2 separate regions of the Homo sapiens genome follow, and region 1 is linked to region 2. Evidence: promoter capture Hi-C in 16 types of primary human blood cells and fetal thymus (Javierre and others, 2016). All regions are on one chromosome and are shown on one strand. Each heading gives the region's core, a stretch centred on a gene start or on the middle of the fragment in contact. The rest is flanking DNA. Distances are from core to core; before and after follow the strand shown. Region 1 overlaps ACYP2 (acylphosphatase 2). Region 2 holds the start of SPTBN1 (spectrin beta, non-erythrocytic 1).

The links. The method cuts DNA at HindIII sites, captures the fragments that hold promoters and counts their contacts. A CHiCAGO score of 5 or more calls a contact.
Region 1: a contact is called between a fragment that was not itself captured here and the fragment with the promoter of SPTBN1 in region 2, in 1 of 17 cell types (endothelial precursors). The highest score is 5.2, in endothelial precursors.

The regions. Positions count from the first base shown.
Region 1 is chr2:54,211,187-54,218,312 of GRCh38, forward strand. All of the region lies in intron 3 of ACYP2 (acylphosphatase 2), which reads left to right. Among named protein-coding and RNA genes, the nearest start is that of TSPYL6, 41 kb to the right of the region's middle. The HindIII fragment of the contact is 3,633 bases long and covers 1,010-4,642 here.
Region 2 is chr2:54,452,127-54,459,048 of GRCh38, forward strand. SPTBN1 (spectrin beta, non-erythrocytic 1) reads left to right here and starts at 4,201. Exons shown (of 36, transcript NM_003128.3): 1 at 4,201-4,392. The HindIII fragment of the contact is 18,714 bases long and covers 1-6,922 here.

The sequences.
Region 1 (7,126 bases), core at 1,576-4,075, 240 kb before region 2:
ATTTTTTAAAACATCAATAATTTGAAGACCTTTAATAATAGATTCATAAATTTTTGTTTTAGAAATACTGTTAGAGTTTCCTGATGGCAAAAAATGAATAAATACTTTGGGCTCCAAAACCAAATTTCTATGCATTTAAACATGCAAATAGTTTTTCAATTCTAAAGCCACTTAAAGTATAGCATTACAGTGATATTTAACTAATATGAAATATGCATTTTATGTAAGTTTGATGTGTGTTTTATTTTAAGAGAAAAACCTAACTGCTGTTAGTTCTTGCTCTGCTAATCCCATCTACTTGGTATCCTGATCTACCTAGTTTGGTTTAAAGTATGATTGGGAAGCTCAGCTTTGGTGTCTTTTATATCCAGTCCTGGCTATGGTTAGTGTTGTCAGTTCTATGTTTGAGCATATAATTTTTATTTTATTTTACTTTGGAAACTATGATGTTCAAATCTTCATGTATTACTGGTTATATTTAATTTGAATATTTCAATATTAGAAGAAGTGATTTGTTTACCAAACTCTAGACTCACCAGTGTTTCAAATATCTAAATGATGTCTACCATTTCTTTGTCTATGTATTGCATTACAGTGCAACTTTAAGGCTCATTATTTCATCTTTAATTGACCAGCAGGGTAAGACATAATCAGTGCTTGAAAGTGCAAATAGAGCAAACTTGTATGCTTCATGATGCCAGGAACTCTGCTTTCTTTCTGTCTCTCTCTCTCTCTCTTTTTTTCTGACTTATTTCTAGCTAATTTATTTCGGGCAGGATTTCAACCAGGGGCTGATTGTAAGCTCCACTCACTGCCTGCCATAGTGCTTGGCACATAGTAGGTGTTCACTGTAGATGAATGAAGGGATAAACAAATGAAGAATGAATGACTGGTATACTAGTAGTGGTGATGGCGTGGCAGTGTTAGTTTTTTAGCAGAGGCAAATTTTGGATTTTTTTTAAAAATCTGAAGCTGGAGAGTTTTATCTCACTGATCTTCATATTGCCCAAGCTTTTATTTATTTTGGGGGATGCAAAGTCTTTTAGAAAATTTGCTAATTTCATTGACTAATACACACAGGGTGAGGATGATCTTTGGAAAATCAAGTGGATGGATTGCCTTTCACATTGTAGTAAATAATTGTCATAGATTACATATCAAATTGCACATAGAATTTCTGCTTTTCAATTTTAATTTGAGTTCACCTGTCATCCTGGGACCTCAGCTGTAATCTCCTTTTCCCTGCACGGCTGACTGAGAATGCATTTCCTTGTGCTTTACTAGGACTGGAAAAACCCAGTTATGATCATCTTAGTAGTGGTCTGTCTTCCAGGCTTTATTATCTGCTTCCCAACTCTCAGCATCAAAACAGGAGTTACCATATCCAATGAATACAAAGAAAATGGCTTAATTTCTGACACATAGCTTATTGAATGTGACCCAGGCAGCAAGGATGTGGTACAGAGGAGCTAATATGCATTCCTCATTAGTCAGCTCACCCATGTGGTCAGCAGATTCCTTTTCTAAAGTAGTTGTGTAATCTGCAGCAGCACAGTAGCCAAACACAGTTGATAAATTACGTTTATTTCATTTTGACAAAAAGAGTAAATATATTCTTGTACAAAAATATTCAAAAAGTTTAATGTAAAGAAGTAAATTTAAATCACCTGTAATCTCACCATCTAGAAATACACTCATTTAAATAGAAGCTGCCACTTTACTTTTTTTTTTTTTTTAAATGTCATGGCTGTTTTTTCTCCAACTTTTATTTTAGGTTCAGGGGATACATGTGCAGATTTGTTACATGGGTAAATTGCATGTCACAGTTGTTTGGTGTACACATTATTTCATTACTCAACTAATGAGCCTAGTACCTGATAGTTTTTCGATGGTCACCCTCCTCCCACCCTCCACCCTCAAGTGGTCGCTAGTGTCTGTTGTTCCCTTCTTTGTGTCCATGTGTACCCAGTGTTTAGCTCCCATTTTTAAGAGAGAACATTGGTATTTGGTTTTCTGTTTCTGCATTAATTCGCTTAGCATAATGGCCTCCAGTTCTATCCATGTTGCTGCAAAGGACATGATTTCACTCTTTTTTGTGGCTGTGTAGTATTCCATGGTGTATATGTACCACATTTTCTTTATCCATTCCACCATTAATGGGCATCTAGATGGATTCCATGTCTTTGCTCTTATGAATAGTACTGTGATAAACATATACGTGCACGTGTCTTTATGGTAGAATGATTTATATTCCTTTGGGTATAGACCCAGTAATGAGATTTCTGGGTCAAATAGCAGTTCTGTTTTAAGTTCTTTGAGAAATCTCCAAACTGCTTTCTAATTTATTCCCACCAGCAGTGTATAAGCATTCCCTTTTCTCTGCAACCTCGCCAGCATCTGTTATTTTTTGACTTTTTAATAGTAGCCATTCTGACTGGTATGAGGTGGTATCTCATTGTGGTTTTGATATGCATTTCTCTAATGATTAGTGATGTTGAGCATTTTTTCATGTGCTGTTGGCTCTGTGTATGCGTTCATTTGAGAACTATCTGTTGATGTCCTTTGCCCCCCACCCCACACCCCCTACTTTTTTTTGAGACAGGATATCACTCTATTGCCCAGGCAGGCTGGAGTGCAGTGGCATGAACGCTGCTCACTATAGCCTCAACCTCCCGGGCCCAAGCGATCCTCCTGCCTCAGCCTCCCAAGTAGCTAAGACCACAGGGGCATGCCACCACACCTGGTTATTTTTTTATTTTTATTTTTTTGTAGCGACAAGATCTCCCTGGTCTTGAACTCCTGGACTCAAGCAGTTCTACCACCTCAGCCTCCTGAAGTGCTGGGATTACAGGCATGAGCGCCCATGCCTAGCCATCTTTGCCCATTTTTTTAATGGGGTTGTTTGGTTTTTGCTTGTTAATTCGTTTAAGTTCCTTATAGATTCTGGATATTCGAGCTTTGTTGGATGCATAATTTGCAAATATTTTCTTCCATTCCATAGGTTGTCTGTTTACTCTGCTGATAGTTTATTTTGCTGTGCAGAAGCTCCTTAATTTAATTAGGTCCTACTTGTCAATTTTTGTTTTTGTTGCAATTGCTTTTGGAGTCTTTGTCATGAAATCTTTGCCAGGGCCTACGTCTAGAATCTCATTTCCCAGGTTTTCTTCTAGGGTTTTTATAGTTATACATTTCACGTTTAAGTCTTTAATCCATCTTGTGTTGCTTTTTTATATGGTGAAAGGAAGGAGTCCAGTTTCAATCTTCTGCATATGGCTAGCCAGTTATCTCAGCACCACTTATCGAATAGGGAGTCCTTTTCCCATTGCTTGTTATTGTCAACTTTGTCAAAGATCAGATGGCTGAACATGTGTGGCTTTATTTCTGGGTTCTCTAATCTGTTTCATTGGTCTATGTGTCTGTTTTTGTACCAGTATAGCACACTTTTGGTTACTGTAGCCTTGTAGTGTAGCTTGAAGTCAGGCAGTGTGATGTCTCTGGATTTGCTTTTTCTGTTTTTGTTTTCTGCTTAGGATTGCTTTGGCTATTCAAACATTTTGGTTCCATATGAATTTTAGAAGAGTTTTTTCTAATTCTGTGAAAAATGTCATTGGTAGTTTGATAGGAATGGCATCAAATCTGCAAATTGCTTAGGACAGTATGGCCATCTTAACAATATTGATTCTTCCTATCTGTGAGCATGGAATGTTTTTCCATTTGTTTGTATCATATCTGATGTTTTTCAGCAGTGTTTTGTAATTCTTGTTGTAGAGATCTTTCACCTTCCTAGTTAGCTATATTACTAGGTATTTTATTCTTTTTGTGGCTACTATGAATAGAACTGCAATTTTGGTTTGGCTCTCAGCTTGGATGTTACTGACACATAGAAATGCTACTGATTTTTGTATATTGATTTTGTATCCTGAAACTTCGAAGTTGTTTATCAGATCTAGGAACCTTTGGGCAGAGACTTTGGGGTTTTCTACGTATAGAATTACATTGTCTGCTAAGAGAGAAAGTTTGACTTCCTCTCCTCCTGTTTGGAATCCTTTTATTTCTTTTTCTTGCCTAATTGCTCTGGCTAGGACTTCTAGTACTATGTTGAATAGGAATGGTGAGAGAGGGCATCCTTGTCTTGTGCCAGTCTTCAAGGAGAATGCTTCCAGCTTTTGCCTATTGAGTATGATGTTGGCTGTGGGTTTGTTATAGATGGCTCTTATTATTTTGAAGTATGTTCCTTTGATGCCTGGTTTGTTGAGTGTCTTGGTTATTTTATCAAAAGAACTTAAAAATACATTTTATTTATTACCCAAGTAATACATGTTTACTTTTAGAAAAATCAGAAGATATAGATTAAATCAAAAGAAAAATACTTACTATGATACCATGATACCATCTTGTAGATAGCTGCTATTGTGGTTTGGGCATATATTCTTCCAGACTTGTAACTTCACAATAAATTGTGTAAATTTATAACAAGGTATATAATTTCTTATAAAACTGGAAGCATACTATGCATAGTTAGGTGTAATCATTTTTCTGACTCTCTTTCCATGTCAGTAAATATATTTCCCTGTAATCATTACTAATGGCTGCAAGACATTCCATTGTATTTATGTATAAAATAAATAAATGTATTTAATAAAGCTTATACTGATGAAAATTAGGTCATTTAAAAACTGTCTTTATATGGAGTTTGTGCCAAAAAACACAAACATTTTACATTTACATTTACATTTCTGTGAGTCCAATCTGTCAGTCTTGTTATGGTTTCTGCATTTGGGATCAGGCTGAGGAATTCCTCCCTGATACAAATATTTTTAAATTATTCAGCTCTGTTTTCATCTGTTTTAACACTAAAGACTTTAGCCAATGTAGAATTTTTCTTATGTGTTATGAGCCAGGAATCTAACTTTAATTTTTTCTAAAAAACTTTGTTAAATAATTCATCCCCCTGCTAATTTAAGATGCTGGTTTTGTCACAAGCAATAATCCATATAAATAATTAGGTCTGTCCCTAAACTTTTATATTTAGTTCTATGATCTATTTCTGTGCCAGATTTATACTGTTTTGATTATCGAGGGTTTATAATATGCTTCAGTTGATGTCTGGTTGAGCAAAACCCCTCTTTTTCTCAAAGTTTTTTGGCTTGTCTAACAGCTGATCATCTTCCAGATATGTCTAGAATAATTTGTCAAATTATACAAATATTTTACAACTTGACATTTTATTGGAATTATATTAAATATGAAGATTAATTTGGGGAGAGTGACATATTTATAATATTGTCCCATCAAATAATATAAAATATATCTCTATTGATGAATCTTTTTTTTTTAACTCCTAATCACGTTTACATTTTTTTTTTTTTGAGACAGAGTATCGCTATGTCACCTAGGCTGGAACGCAGTGGCGCAGTCTCAGCTCACTGCAACTTCAGCCTCCTGAGTTCAAGCGATTTTCATGCCTCAGTCTCCTGAGTAGCTGGGACTACAGACACACACCACCACACCTGGCTAATTTTTGTATTTTGGTAGAGATGGGGTTTTACCATGTTGGCCAGGCTAGTCTCAAACTCTTGGCCTCAAGTGATCCACCCGCCTTGGCCTTCCAAAGTGCTGGAATTACAAGCGTGAGCTACTGCACTGAGGTCTAATCACATTTTTAGCTTGTCATATAGCTACTGCACATTCTTGTTAAGTTTATTTTACAATATCTTATTCTTTGTTTCTATTGTAAGTGGAAGCCCTTTCTCACTTGCTCTGATGATTACTAGTGCAAATATATGTGAATCTGATTATATTTGTTTCATATCATACTTGTAAATCATTTATTTGTTCTAATATATTTTTATTTTATTTCCTTAGGTTTCCCGTAGAAACAGTAATTCCATTCTTTAGATCTCATTTTCCTTTCTTGACCCATTGCATAGATTCAAACCTGGTCTAGAAAAGTGCTGAAAAACTGTGGTGATATCAGGGCTTCCTTTCCTTATTCCCAACTTCAGAGAGGCTTTAGGTCATCACTGTCCAATAGAACTTTCTGTAATTACAGGAGTATTCTCCCAATGTCTAATACTTGTGGCCACTGAGCACTTGAACTGTGGCTGATGATACTGAAAAAATTAATTATTTTATTCAAGTAAAATAATATTATTTTGGACAGCACAGCTCTAGGTTTTTTGTTTGTTTGTTTGTTTTGAGACAGGGTCTTGCTCTGTCACCCAGGCTGGAGTTCAGTGGTGCAATCACAGCTCACTGTGGCCTCTACCTCCTGGGCTCAAGCGACTTTCCTACCTTAGCCTCCCGAGTAGCTAGGACCACAGGTGCACACCACTGTCCCTGGCTATTTTTTTTTTGTATTTTTTTGGTATAGATGGGGTTTCACCGTGTTGCCCAGGTTGGTCTTGAATTCCTGAGCTCAAGCGATCCCCCTGCCTCGGCTTCCCAAAGTACTGAGATTACAGGCGTGAGCCTGTATGTGCCTGGCCAGAGTTTCACTATTAATTATTTATTTCAGATGAATCTTTAACATGATAAAGTCAGCTTGGGGAAAAGATCATGGGTTAAAAAAAAGTAAGAGTATTACGTAGATAATTGTCAAACACATGCCTTTAGCAGGATGTGAAAGGGAGTAGAGAATAGCATGATAACTGGAGTGAGATGAGGGTTGAAAAAAGCTAGTTTTTTGTCTGCTTTGTTAAGATTAAGTATGGCTCCACATCCAACTCTTTATTTATCTTCCCCAAATATACCATCTCACTGTATTACCTTCTGGTAATATTGCTACCATTATGCTACTCCAAAACCTTGTTACCACTTTTTGAGTTCTCTTTCTCCCTTGTCCCCTAATAATGCAAACTCTCCCTCATTCTACCCCCATTCCCACAACCTGTATCTCACCCAGTTTTCAAGTTCCTTCACAAGTGTACCTTCTGCATGAAAAAACTTGTTCTTGATCTCCTCAGTGAAAAGTAGTCTTGTTCTTCATTAAAGGTAGAATTAATTTGTGTCTTTTTTATACCACTTAGTCCTGCACATTGTCTTCTTCCTATTTGTTAACATATCTATGAGACTGTACACTCTGAGGATCTCATCCTTGACTCCTTGACTGATTGACCTTTCTATC
Region 2 (6,922 bases), core at 2,951-5,450:
TCCTTTGCAGAAACATGGATGGAGCTGGAGGCTGTCATCCTTAGCAAACTAATACAGGAAGAGAAAACCAAATAGCGCATGTACTCACTTATAAGAAGGAGGTAAATGATGATAACACACAGACACAAACATGGGAACAATAGACACTGGGGCCTACTCTAGGGTGGAGGTTGGGAGGAGGGAAGAGAATCAGAAAAAATGACTATTGAGTAATAGGCTTAGTACCTGGGTGATGAATTAATAAGTATAACAAACCCCTGTGGCACAAGTTTACCTGTTTACAAACCTACATATATACTCCAAACCCAAAATAAAAGTTAAAAAAAAACCCAAAAGAATTTTCTGAATGGTTAAAAAAAGTAACATACGCACAACGTAAAACTTACCATTTTAACCATTTTCATACAGTTTAGTGGCATTATGTACGTGTACATCGTTGTGGAACCATCACTACCATCCATCTCTAGAACTTTCTTCCATCTTGCAAAATAGAGTTATGTTGAGTAATTCATATGCAATGCCCAGGCATACAGCTCTGATATGCTAGCTCCTAAGATATCTCTGGCACTTAACTAGCTGTGAGAACTTGGGCAACTCATTTGACCATTTGGTCATCCACAGAATGGGGTTAATATTTACCTCACAGAACTGGCAAAAGGACAAAATAAGATAATATTTGATAAAGCATTTTAAAAACTGGAAAACATTTTATGGTTGCTACTTATAATCATTATTATTATTAACATAGAAAATGTGAAGATCTTTTATAGAAAGCTGAGACCATTTATTGTGATCATTTTATAAATATTGTTATACATTTAGGTTACCATCTATTCAGATTTATCATTACACATATCTTTTACTTTTTTATTGATTGATTATATCTAGAATGGAATACTAGATATAATCTACTAGAATGGAAGATCCATGAAAGCAATGATTTTTTAAAATTATTTTACCCATTGCTCTATTTCAGAGCCGAGAAGAATATAAGGCATATCTATCTCTTGAATAATGAAAGAATAAATTACTTTATGCAAGAGTAAATATGTTATTAGTGCTTTAAAAAATTCATTCATAATGATAGTTTACATATAAGTCTTTAGGTTTTCCCAGTGCAAAATTAATACATGTGAATTCCCAAATGAAATATATTTTAAATATGAGGAAATTTCCCAGACTAGTTCAGAGTTAAAAGGAAGCAAGTTTAGGAGTAAACAGGAATTTTAAAAATATATGCAAGTTTTCAAAATATGTTCTGATTTTAAAGTTTTGGGCTATTATCAGTACAATAAAAGATGAGTTCAATTGGGTTAATATAATATAACCAAGGAAATACTTAGAGTATCATTCTCTTTTCTAAACAAAACAGGTTGTAGTAGACAATACTGTTTATCAATACCTTTTTATTTTATTTTATTTTATTTTATTTTTTGAGACAGAGTCTCGCTCTGTCACCCAGGCTGGAATGCAGTGGTGCGATCTCGGCTCACTGCAACCTCCGCCTTCCAGGTTCAAGTGATTCTCCTGCCCCAGCCTCCAGAGTACCTGGGACTATAGGCGTGTCTCACCATGCCCGGCTAATTTTTGTATTTTTAGTAGAGACGGGGTTTCGCCATGTTGGCCAGGCTGGTCTTGAACTCCTGACCTCAGGTGATCCACCCACTTCAGCCTCTCAAAGTGCTGGGATTACAGGCATGAGCCACCGTGCCCAGCCTTCCCCTACATTCTGAATGGAAAGTTAAAATGACAATTTATATCTGTAAAAATTTTGTAATAAAGTATTTTGATGGGAGATAAAGCCATATGCAATCACATGGTTTTAAAAGTGGAGAGTAGTATGTTACAAACATGATATTGAAGACTTCTAGGTTCCTTTATATCAACCCTGATTCTAATATGAGAAGAAACTAAGCCGCTTCTGAGATACATGGGAATAATCCTTCTGAGCTGTTATCACTGCCTAAGACTTTTTATCTTTTTTAGATTTTGCCTTCCATAAAAATGTCTTCTCCAATAATCTTTCCAGTTGTACTATCTTTTCTTTGAATTGTTACTTCTTTTTGGTCGTTGGTACACTGAGTTCTCTAGGGTGATTTTTTGCACCTAAGGGTAAGAATTCAAAATTGTGATGCAGGTATTTACAGTAGAACTCTGAATCCTTGTCTTTCACATTTTTGGAATAATTACTGGGGCTTTACTAGAGTACCTTGCTAAGGTGTGTGTGGCCTTTTTTTTTTTTTTAATTAAAAAACAACGTAAGTGGGAGTGGAATGGGGTAAGGGAGGTGAATCATTCATCAAATGAAAATTTATTTAAATACCGTTGTCTGTGATAAAGGAATAACCATTTCAGAATAACACTGGAAGAATTAATTTAAATGGATGCACTTCCCAATATTGTTACTGTTTTCTTTGGTATTTCATTAACATTGTGAGTGGGGAGGTGCTGGGGTCCATGGTAAAAAAATAAGTAAGTGAAAGGCAAACAACTTTGCTTTCTAGTGGATTTCCCTTATTACCTAATGAGGGCAGCAGCTTACAAGTTGATTGTGTTCAATTCAACAAATTTGTTTTAGTACCTAAGTGCCTGCTATATGTACAGAGTGAAGAAAGAAATAACCCTACCTTTAAGAGAGTTTACGGTCTGGTTGTGTTGATTCACCTTCTGAGAAAAAATGTTATTTGCTTTCCTCAATTTTTTTCCTATCAAAAGTAAACATAGGTTCAAACATTCAAACCTATGAAGGCCTAAAAGGAAGAATCATCTTCAGTTTGCTGTGACGATTTCACTGAGTTTTATTTTAAAATATTCATTTAAAAATACATACAAACATATAAACCCATCAGGCCAGGTTCTAGTGATCTGAGATATAAGCATGATACAAACTACTTGGCTGCCGTGTATTTTTGTTTTATTTTAATCCAGGTGATCAGGTCTGTATGGGGAAAAAGCCCTGGGGCTTTTTCAAACAGGAAGGGCCCTCCTCCCTCTGAATGCCCGCAGTGCCGCCCTGTGCACTTTACAGAACAAGGAGAAAGTCAGTTTCTTCAAACTGCTTTTCTAAAGAGCGTTTCCATTCGTGGTCCTGGTGATTCCACCATCTTTTCTTCACAACAGTGACGGTTCTGGAATTTCTACACAGCCTGAGGGGCTGACGGGGTAGACCAGGTGACTGGGAAGGGGCAGTGGCACATGACAAAAATTTGAGGAAACGTCCAGTTTCCGTTTCAGGGAATGCGCATAGGGGAAAACGCAAGTCCCCACGCCATCACGGGGCCCTCCACCGCGGCCGGACGACCCCTCTCTCGGGAGTGACTGGGGCAGGGCACCTGGCCTCAGGTTCGAGCGGAGCCTGCACTGAGAGGCAGGAGTTGGATGAACCACTTGTAGGGTCTGCTCCCAGCTACCCAAAGCGAAAGGGTGGGCGAAAAAGCATTTGCAAAAGAATACATTAACCTCACAAGGAACGACCCCCACCACCCATCCTCCAGCGCCCAAGGTTTCCCACGAAGAGGTCGCCGTCGCCCTTCTCCAAGTTGGGTAGAACCTATAAGGCATCACCAACTGCATCTCAAACCAACCAAGCAAGTGACGCTCCAAAACCTCCCTAAATACCCTCTCTCCCCAGCATTCCGAACGCAACATCAAGGGCGAAAAGAGGCTGCACAAATCACGTAGAAAATTAGACCGCCTCTTTCCATGGCGATAATCGAATTAGCCTCAAATTAAACGTGAAATTGGCCCTCTCCGGCTGTGGAGACAAAGCCCCTATTGTCCTGCTCGGGTAGCGGCAGCAGCAGTGCCCACCCCGCCCCGGCCAGCCTGGTCGGTCCCCGCCGCTGGGAGGATGAGGTCCGGGCTGGACCCGGGAAGAGCCTCAGCTGGAGAGGACGTGGACGCGCCCGAGGCTCGGCTCCCTGGGCGGCTGCGGGGCTCCGGGCAGGAGGAGAGGGCGGGCGAAGCAGAGGGAGCGGGCGGGAGTGGGGAGGGAGGAGTGCGGAGGGCGGAGGGCGTGCGGGAGGGATCCCGGGAGTGCGCTTGTGTGTGTGTGCGCGCGCGCCCGCCCCGCGCGCTCCTCTCCCCGCCCCTCGCCCCCTCCCTGCGAGCGCCCTCCTCTCCTCCTCCCCCCGCCCCCCGCGCTCCCGCCCAGCCCCCGGAATCAGTGCCGCTGTTGCCGTGCAGGCTGCGGATTCCTCCAGTCCCTCCCTCGGCCGCCTCTCCTCCCGGAGCGAGCGCGCAGCCCTGCGCAGCAGCGCCCACTGGTCCCGTCCTGTGAGCCCCGGCCCCAGCCGCGGACAGACCCGCGGAGTCGCCTCCCGGCCCACCCGCCCGGCCGCCGAGGAGCGGGAGGAGGACGGGACCCCGGCGCCCCCACCCCATCCCCGGGAGGTAGGTAGGGGGCCCGAGGCAGGGAGATGCCAACTCACTGGGGCTGCCTCCCGGGTGGGCTCCGCGGCGGCGGACGGGCGGGAGGAGGGGCGCGGGCCCAGGGCCGGAGGACGCCGCTGCCCGCCTGCCCTGCGCCCGGGGAGCCGCGTGGGGGCAGGGAGGCTGCAAAGCCCGGGCGGGGGCGGCGCGGGGAGCCCGGGTCGCGGGTGCTCATTGGTACTCGGATGATGCGGGACGAGGGGCGGCAGGCTCTGCGGTGAGGCGGCAGCAGACCCGCCGTGCGCACCGCTGCCGTCCGGCCCCAGCCCCGGCGCGGCGCGGCGATTCCTCCTCCCTGCCTCCGCCGGCGCCTCCCTGCAGCCGGGCGCGGCGGCCCCTGACGCGGAGGCCCCTGGCGCGGAGGTGGGTGCGGAGCGGACAGCGGACAGCCGGAGGGTCTATTTTCAGGTGCCCTCTCTGTGGCCCCGCGGGTGGGGAGCGGGGGCGGCGGTGACAGGGCCGGGCTCTGCGCGTAGCGGTGCAGGGGATGCGGCCAGGCGTGGTCCCGGCTGCGCCGCGCTGCAGCTGAGCCGGAGGCGGCGGCCCCGCGCCCCCACCTCCGCCCCATCCCTGCGCTTGCTACCCTCGTGCGCCCGCCCCCCCCCCGCCCTTTCTGCCGTCCCCACTCTCCCAGGGCTGGGCGTGAGCCGCCTCCGGGCGCCGAGCCGCCGCTGCGCCCGCCCTTCAGCTCCTGCCACCCTCTCTTCAACAGGTTTGTCTCAGCGCAGGGACCCTCCGGGCCTGCTTTGGGTAGGTGGGCTGGCTCGTCATCACCCCCCACACCACGCCCACGGCCCTCTTTTAGGGGGCGCCTTCTCTTTGTTTTTGTGATAGGAAAGGTGCCAACTGCTGCCATCAGATGAGGAGGGGGTGGGGATCAGAACGCAAACCTCTGTCCATTATTTTTCCAATCGAAAGCCAGGCCAGATAGTAAGTGAGGACAGGGTGCGTGTGGGGGTGCTTCGGCGGAGCAGAAAATTGAATTCGGTGGGGTTTATTTGGGCGGGGATGTGCTTTTTTGGCAAGATGGATGGCTCACGGTGCCCTCGCCGTGATGCAGCACAATGCAGCAGTATCGCAGCTTCCTTGGTTCTCGCTGGCGGGGCTTGGCACGGCCGCTCGGCGCCTGCGGCCCCCGCCCGGCCCCACCCAGGCCCGGGGCTGCCCTTGGCCGAGGCCTGGAGCTGCTGCTACCTTGTCCTGCAGCTTCTGCTGGATGTGGCGTCAGGAGGACCAGGTCAGCTAGGTGTGAGCAGGGGAGAGTCTTTTCTTTTGGGATGATCCCTCCTGCACCTCTTCTTGGGCTGCGCTCTGCCGGAGGGGCGCCCTGCATCACCAGTGCAGGCAGAGGGGAGCCGGCCTGTGGTTGCGGATCGGAATCTGATCTGCGACCAGGGGACCTGAGCCATAGGGAGGGGCTGCAGGAAGGACTGGGCCCAGTGGTGTGCGGAGGCAATGTTGCAGTGTGGGGAGTCGCAGCGTTTTTCTGTGGATCGTCCATAATCTGTAACCACAACCCAGCTATGCATTAATTTTTTCTACGTGAAAAGTTGGTGTTTATTAATTGGACCTTCACAACTGTGACATTACAGTACCTCGTCTGTCTTTGGTTAATACCAAGTATGCATTTTTTCTGTAGGAAACCATTTTTAAATGAAATGATTAATGCATTTTGGGTTTTATGTCACTAAGACATTTATAAGTATATTAAAATTCAGTAGGTTGTTTTAAAAGGAATTTATATGTTTTTTAATGGATAGTAAATGATTCCTTTAGCTTGTATTTTGTTTTCATCGTTTGCTTTTTCTAAGTCAAGTACAGTTGCATTATTTGGATGCTTTATTAAGGATTATTAGGTGTATGAGTGTCATGATGGGGGCTAAATTGGTATTCAGATTTCTATTGATTGAGGTAGCCAAGTTAAGTGTCCGGGCGTAATTAATGGGATTATGACAGTAACACTGCGTTTGTGTTTGTTTATATGTATTTTTTGTATACATATTTTTCACAGCTGTGACTGGGGAGAGGGTGGAGAAGGGCAGACCACCAAGGCCTCTTGACTGGCATCTAGTCAGAAGGAGATGGTTCCCAGTGTTCTCATGTTTAGTCTCGGCCAGGACACAGGGAATTTCCCTTCTAAATGCCATCTCTATAATTCATTATTCAGTGTGGGATGGCAAATGGGATATATTTCAAATGTCAACCCAGGCTTTCCTAAAATGTTTAGGTGAAAAAGGAAATTTCAATATGCTAGTTGGAAGGGAAGGTCAGTGTTTACAAGCCAAGGGCGTGCCTGCTTGTATTTTTAAATATTTCTAATGAATCCAAGTTAGTTGCTTTTGATTTCATGTGGCTCTGCAGAATAGAACTGCATGTACATTGTGTGGTGTATGTGCGTTATTTTGAGTTTCTCTAATAGCCATTAAAATATGAGACTTTTTGTGCTGGTTGTGTAAAATCGTGTTGCGTACAGATTTTTATGAATGTTGTT